Regions from separate parts of the Homo sapiens genome. Here region 2 is linked to region 1. Evidence: promoter capture Hi-C in human tissues and cell types (Jung and others, 2019). All regions are on one chromosome and are shown on one strand. The core of a region is centred on a gene start or on the middle of the fragment in contact, and the rest is flanking DNA. Distances in the headings are between cores, read along the strand shown. Region 1 holds the start of DEFB127 (defensin beta 127). Region 2 has its middle 13 kb from the start of DEFB129.

Evidence for each region. Contacts are between HindIII fragments. The study calls those that stand out against the background at their distance.
Region 2: a contact is called between a fragment that was not itself captured here and the fragment with the promoter of DEFB127 in region 1, in 3 of the 25 tissues and cell types used here (aorta, dorsolateral prefrontal cortex and lymphoblastoid cells).

Annotation. Positions count from the first base shown.
Region 1 is chr20:155,713-159,732 of GRCh38, forward strand. DEFB127 (defensin beta 127) reads left to right here and starts at 1,742. Exons shown (of 2, transcript NM_139074.4): 1 at 1,742-1,881; 2 at 3,062-3,451. The coding sequence starts at 1,833. The coding sequence ends at 3,312. The HindIII fragment of the contact is 9,888 bases long and covers 1-2,112 here.
Region 2 is chr20:238,573-242,592 of GRCh38, forward strand. No RefSeq gene overlaps it. Among named protein-coding and RNA genes, the nearest start is that of DEFB129, 13 kb to the left of the region's middle. The HindIII fragment of the contact is 4,422 bases long and covers 1-4,020 here.

The DNA of each region.
Region 1 (4,020 bases), core at 492-2,991:
ATTTGTTTTATTAAAAATTTGTCCTTGCTCTTAGGACCCATTCCTATCCTTATATTTATTATTACTAATTTAACATCCAGCTTCAGAAATACAACTTTAATAGGAAGGCTTTTTGTATTTCTCCTGACTGCTCAGACTTAGGGTCTTTATTTGATGCTCCACCACCAAGTCACCTATAAGGAAAGTTTGCATTCACAGGAAGACTATAAATAATAAAACCAATCCCTTGACTAGGACTTAAACCATGTAAAAGCTGGTGGCAAAAGTAAAGGGAGGTGACCCTTGAGACCTCTGAGGTAACTGCTCTTAAATTTACATTTGCCTCTAAAAAGGATTTCTTATATGTCAACATCTCTCTGTTTAAACATATTCTTGTGTAAAACCACTACGTGACCTGAATAATGGCCATAGGGCTCATCTCTAAGCCAACTGGCTTATTTATTTAATGCATCTCAGTGGTTAACAGGGTTGAAATTTTTTGAAAACTGCAATCAATGATCAAAGAATGATCTAGGTAAACATCGATTCCTTGTGGCAACATTTTAATATTTTCAAAGACAAGGTACAACTGGTAGAAAAAAAATACCCTCATGCATCTTTTTCTTCTAATTGTGGTAAAATATATGACATAACATTGGCCATTTTAGCCATTTTTCCTTTTATTTTTAGTTGACACATAATTGTACTTATTTATAGGATACAAAGTGATATTTCAATACATGCATATAATGTGTAATGATCAAACCAGGGTAATTAGCATATCCGTCACCTCAAACATTTATCATTTGTATTGGGAACATTCAAAATCCTCTCTTCTAGCCTTTTAAAAGTATACAATAAATTGTAGTTAACCATATTCACCTTACAGTGCTACAACACCAGAAGTCATTCCTCCTATCTATAATTTTGCATCCATTAGCCAATCTCTCTCCATCCTCCCCTCTCCCTAATCATTACCAGCCTCTAATATTAATATCTGCAACACTACTCTCTACTTCCATGTGCTCAACTTTTTTAGCTCCCATATATAAATAGGAACATGTGGTAATCTTTCTGTGCCTGACATTTCACATAACATAATGTCCTCCAGGCTATCCATGTTGTTGCAAAGGACAGAATTTCATTATTTTTATGGGTGAATAGTATTCCATTGTGTGTGTGTGTGTATATATATATATATATATTCCATTGTGTGTTATGTATGTATAGTATTCCATTGTGTGCATATATATGTATATATGTGTGTACATATATATATACATAATATATATTCTTCTGCACATGGAAATCCAGTTTCTCCAGCATGATTTATTGAAGAGGGTATCCTTTCCCCAGTGTATGTTCTTGGTGCTTTTATAAAAAATCAGGTGACCTCAGATCAGACCCAACTACATCATACCTTCTTTCGAAATGTGCAAGAAACCTACTAGAAATTCTTATTGTTAGAGTTTCAGATTTATGTCCTGGTTTATACTGCCACATTCATTCTTGGAGGTGAGTACATTTCGATCTTGGTCCGGCTGCGCAGAGAGTCAAAGCAGGAAAATCACAGATTCTTCCCAGCAGTCTACAGCCTACACAGCGGCATTTGGTGCGATGGGATGGAACATGCTGTATCTCTATTCCATGTGGGGGTAAAGTGGGTGGCCTGAAATTTCCTGTGTCTGCCTGCATGATGCAAAGCTCACAGTTCAGAAGCTTAAGGACACACTTCATATCATCCCATCTGTTCTGGTTCAGTGCATAAGAATCTAAGTCTCTGAGGAAGGTAGCATAGTGTGCAGTTCACTGGACCAAAAGCTTTGGCTGCACCTCTTCTGGAAAGCCTGGCCATGGGGCTCTTCATGATCATTGCAATTCTGCTGTTCCAGAAACCCACAGGTAAACCAAACCAGAAGCTCACTCAAATCAACAGTGGGATGGAGCATTTTCAGGAGCCAAAGGGAACTTCATAATCCACACTAAAGGGAAATAGAGCCCCCAAAGATGGCTAAAGTTTATCCAACATCATCAGAAATTTCCTCTTTCTGGAGCCTTATTCCATGTTACTATCCTTAAAGAGGAGTACTCACTGAGCTAAAAAGAGGTCATAATTTCTTCTGGGAAAGATGTGTTGTTATAGAAAGGAATGATGCCAATATCTAGGGATACCTTTATGTCTTTGGATATGGTTTTTACTCTGATGCTCAGCTATATTTCCTTTTACTCAAATATATATATGTGTGTGTGTGTGTGTGTGTGTGTGTGTGTGCATGAATAGAGGAAGAAGCAAATTTTGGAGTTAGGTTTAAGAAACATGCCTTCAATATCTACTAGTTTGTCAACTTTAAGTAGTGAAGACTCTAGGAGCCTCAGTTTCCTCATCTATGGAGATAATGACACCTGGTTAACAGGGGTTTTATTAAATGATATAACCTATGTGAAGCTTGGCACATACTGAGAACTCAAAAATTAGAGTTTCCTTTCCTCTTTCAAAACCAGATTTCTTACATGTGTCCCTTATTATAAGAATAGTAATGGCCTATTCCTGACCCTCTACATTCCTAAGACCCAATAGACTACTACCTTACTGGATAACATGAAAGTCATTCTTGACCCTGATAGTGGGTTTGAACTCAGGAGAACAGTTTGATTCAGACATAAACACATAGTAACAATACATTGTTCTCTGGGCATCAGAGGAGGTGCAGTAGAAGGTAGTGCTCTGGGAGCATTCAGGATGCAGGCAGATTTGCTGAGGTTCCTATGTAGAGCATAGTTCCATAGCCTAGAATCAAGGGTTCAGCTCCTTTATTTTCTCAGATAAGATCTTATGTTCTTGGCAGAGTCTATCAGATGTTAAGGGAGGCCTAAAACCTCACAGGACCTAAATATAAGTGATCCAGTTAAATACAAACACTGAGGTTGACCTTGTCGGAAAATCCTCTTCAGAATATATGAGGGTCTGCCTTGTGGATACCCCATACCCCTAATTCCTACAAGCCTCCTCTGTCTTCCCCAAAACCAACGTGCCTTCAGTCTCAAACACTGATATTGTTCTATTGCTCCTTTCTGTGTATAGTAACCGAACAACTTAAGAAGTGCTGGAATAACTATGTACAAGGACATTGCAGGAAAATCTGCAGAGTAAATGAAGTGCCTGAGGCACTATGTGAAAATGGGAGATACTGTTGCCTCAATATCAAGGAACTGGAAGCATGTAAAAAAATTACAAAGCCACCTCGTCCAAAGCCAGCAACACTTGCACTGACTCTTCAAGACTATGTTACAATAATAGAAAATTTCCCAAGCCTGAAGACACAGTCTACATAAATCAAATACAATTTCGTTTTCACTTGCTTCTCAACCTAGTCTAATAAACTAAGGTGATGAGATATACATCTTCTTCCTTTTGGTTTCTTGATCCTTAAAATGACCTTCGAGCATATTCTAATAAAGTGCATTGCCAGTTTTCTGTCTCATTTTGTTCTTTAACCAGGGGTTGAACACTCATTATATACTAGGTAATGAATTGATAAGAACTCAGAACCTCTCCTTGAAAAGGGGATATGACAAGTACACTAAAAAAAAAAAGTCCTATAGTGTGGAAGTCTGGAATAAGAAACTCAGAAACACTGACATGTAATTTAGGAGAGGGAAAGGTGAAGCAAATATTCAGGGGAAATTCATGAGTAAGTTTAGGAATAAAGCAGTGTCTTGTAGTAAATAAGTAAATAGTAAAGCAGTAAATAAGTAGGATTTCCATGGATGAGGTTTGGTAGGGAAGGCAATTTGAGTGAACAGAATGGGAGGAAATTGGAAAAGACAGAACATTTCAAGACACTATACATGCACTTTGTTTGGATGAAGAACAGAGCACTCAAAGTTGAACTATGGGGGAAGTCTGATTTCCTAAGCTCCTGTGTACCAGCAGTGAACTGGGAAGACGGAGATAAATAAGATTCCACTGTTGTGGAGCTCAACAGTGGAGCTCAACGCTTCCTCTATGAAGTGGAGAAGACCTAAGTAAATAACTCCAAC
Region 2 (4,020 bases), core at 618-3,117, 83 kb after region 1:
AAGACAAAATGATAATCCCAGCACTTTGGGAGGCCGAGGTGGGTGGAACACAAGGTCAGGAGTTCAAGACCAGCCTGGCCAACATGGTGAGACCCCCGTCTCTACTAAAAATACAAAAATTAGCTAGGTGTGGTGGTGCGCACCTGTAGTCCCAGCTACTCAGGAGGTTGAGGCAGGAGAATCGCTTGAACATGGGAGGCGGAGGTTGCAGTGAGCTGAGATCACACCACTGCACTCTAGCCTGGGTGACAGAGCTAGACTCCATCTCAAAAGAAAAAAAAAAAGAAAAAGCACACGACTAGTTATCATAGATACTGTTGGCTACTGTTTCCTCTCTGTTGTGTGGGTCTGAGCAAAGAGAGGGAATGGGATGCACCGTGCTTTCAGCTCTCTATAGTCTCTTCTGGATTTCAGTGTTTCAGCACAGCCCTAAAAACTACCACATGATTATGCCCCACGTAACAGTCAGATCACCTTGTCTCTAGAGAGACCACGCATCCATAACGAAGAACCTCTTATAACCATGGGTTCCACATCTTTACGGCTTAATCACTGATGCTCTCAGTGAACCTGAAAATTGATCCTGCTGAACAAGATCAATAAACAGAGTTTTGATTCAAAGGCAGCCCAATGAGTTAATAAGTGCTCCATGACAATGCCAAAGAGGATTAAGGAAAGAATAGCAACCTGGAGGAAGATGTATAGAAAAGCAGACCAGGTGCGGTGGCATGCGCCTGTAGTCCCAGCTACCCAGGAGGCTGAGGCAGGTGAATCATTTGAACCTGGGAGGTGGAAGTTACAGTGAGCCGAGATCACGCCACTGCACTCCAGCCTGGGAGACAAAACGAGACTCTGTCAAAAACAACAACAAAAAAAAACCAATATTAATAATGCAAATATTTGAGTTACAGGGCATTTTTAAGAGCCAGATACAGTACTGGGAACCTTGAGTATATTATCTCATTTAGTCCTTAAAACAACCCCATAGACTTTATATAAATAATACAACTGAAAGTTTAACTTAAGTTGCTGAAGTTCACAGATAAGCAGTAGAATCAGGATTGGAACCCATGTCTCATCATATCAGAGACCCTACGCTTAAGTGCTATGCTTCCTTGACTCTCACTGGCAACAGCTTTGGTGCATGTACCTAATGCCAGTTATATCATAAAGGATCTACATGGATAAGCTTATTTCATACTCTTAGAAATGGTTTGGAAGAGGCCAGGCGTGGCGGCTCACACCTGTAATCCCAGCACTTTGGGAGGCCTAGGCAGGCAGATCACGAGGTCAGGAGATCGAGACCATCCTGGCTAACATGGTGAAACCCCATCTCTACTAAAAATACAAAAAATTAGCCAGGCATGGTGGCATGCACCTGTAATCCCAGCTACTCAGGAGGCTGAGGCAGGAGAATTGCTTGAACCTGAGAAGCAGAGGTTGCAGTGAGCCAAGATCACGCCACTGCACTCCAGCCTGGGTGACAGAGTGAGACTTCGTCTCAAAAAAAAAAAAAAAAGTTTGGAAGAAGCTATAGAAGTCTCGATATTACTGGTGACCCAGTATAAGGAGGAGTGGTGAATATCCCTATTCTAAAGGATTTCCTAATCCTGAAGGATTTGGACAGCTCCTGCAATTGCCAAATGTAAGCGGCCTGAAAAGTTCACACTTAGATTATTGCCTTTATTTTTGGCTCCCACACTGTAAAAGAAATTAGAATTAGAGCACAGATACAAAAGCTATGATAATGAAAGTCCTAAAAAAAATTCCATTAAGAAACACACACATATAAGTCAGAAATTCATTGGGAATACCTTTGCATTTTAAGAGATGAGAAGGAAAGAGTTAACAGTAGTCCTGAAATCAATTCTCTCCCTTTAACAGGAGATACTTCTGGCAGGAAAGAAAAAAAAAAAAAAAAAACTTGACTCTGACTCTGTCAGATCTCCTTATAACATGCTAATAAGAGACCTTCTGGTAAATATGCTAATGATATTCACTAGCAGAGGGGTCTTTATGTAGCAGAATGCATCTGCTCAGTCCTCAATTGCTTCTGGTAAACAAACTTAGAGTCTATGAATTTACAGGGCATGGCTCCTTGAAAAATGTCATGTGTTTGTAATGCTAAGTAATTGCCAGAGAATAAAATGGAGATGTTTCTAGCTAAAATAGCCCCTTTGGGTAGCTGATGGGCACCCATGCATCACAGACATCACTTAGAGATCTTTCATGTTAAACCTATCCCATGGCTTATTTTCATGAGGCAAGAAAGGACCTGGGAAGTGGTGTGGACATCCCAGACTTTTGCATTTTTACCTGCTTCGTAATTACCCGTATCCTTGAAATTATTACTAAAGCTTAATGCTGGGAAAGATCTCTGATTCCCCTGATTCTGATTTGGCAAGCCAATCAATCTTTTGTATTAATCAGGAAAGAAAGCCAATATTTCTATATGAATATACTCATCTCAAAACTTTTCAGAAAAGATATTTTCCATACATGGAAATAGCTTAATTAACTTTTTCTGATTATGAGGTTACTTATAGTCATTTTGAACACTCAGACAAAACAGAAAACTTTATGGAAGATAAAATAAGAATAACAAAATCTTTCCCAAAGAGAAAGACCATTAAATTTTTGTATATATCCTTCCAGAGAATACACAAATTATATGTATATATATTTTACATGTATACATATATAACAAAGACTAGCTTATACTACCCACGCTTTCCTGTCATTTTTCTTTTCTACCTAAGATATCACTGACAGTCTTTTATATAATAAGGATAGTCCTCAATTATCATCATTGTTTAAATGGAATTCTAATGTGTTAAGTGCCATAAATTAGCAGATTCTCTATTGATAGACATTTAGCTTACTTTTCACATTCTCACTATGAGTAATGCTAAGAAGGCAATATAGTTCTTGCACCTTCATGAACATATTCTTTTATGCTATGTGCATTATTTTGGGTCAAAGGGCAAGCAGAGTTTCATTTAATTTTGTTTTAGACATGGGCTATATATTGACAAATTGCCCTCCCAGGAACAGTACACAGTTTTTCTTATGTTGCCTCACCCATGCCAGCAGTAGCTAGAAAATGCATTTCCAAAGACTGGTGCTAATTTTCTGTGCATTCTGTGAGTGCTCAGTCAATTTAAGCAATAACCACTTAGAGTAACAAAATCTATTCACCCTAATAGCAGAGATTTCTACTTCATCCCTGGCTCACTGCCCAACTTTTGATCTCATCTAAGGCCAATAAATGTAGCTCCAGACAAGTGACACAGGTAGCTCTGTCCCCATCCAATCTACCCAGCTACTTCTCTTAAGGCACGTTCTGATCCTTCAAGCATGAAGTTCTTGCCTCTGGCTTTTGTTTCTCTCTTGTTTCTGGCTTCAGTGACCTTGAGTACCCTGGAATCTTCCATATTGAGAAAGAAATGATAGAGGGGAGGGGACATGGAAAAAAGAATTAAATATATCTATTTTTAAAAAGAAAGAAAATTTTAGAATGGACATGTCTAGAAGGAGGAGGAAACAGAGGAGGGGGACAGGTATAAAAACTGGACTTCTCTGAATATACTCTGCTTTGAAGGTTTGACTTTGGAATCATCTACATATTTTATCTAATACAAGAATATCGAAACTTAAATGGCAATCCCAAAAATCTAAAAGGAATAGAAATCAAATTAGCCTCTGTAATAAATGGGTTGTATAACCACACAAAGGACTATTTGAAATGACTTTCAAAGAGTAATTTGAGAATACTTCCTTATTGGAATATAACCTAAAAACAGAAGAATTGCAAACTGTTTTCAATGTTTTCAGTAATCATATTGAGACTTTAATACATATATTGTGGGATAAAGGAAATGAATGTTGGTGTCACTGATAGAGATAAGAAATAAAAGTTCAGGTAAAAATTCTGTAAATCCTAAATTTGAATTGGAATTTTATATTTTATTTTTAAAATACCTTTTTCTACCCCCATCCACTGAAAAGCCCTAGAAATAT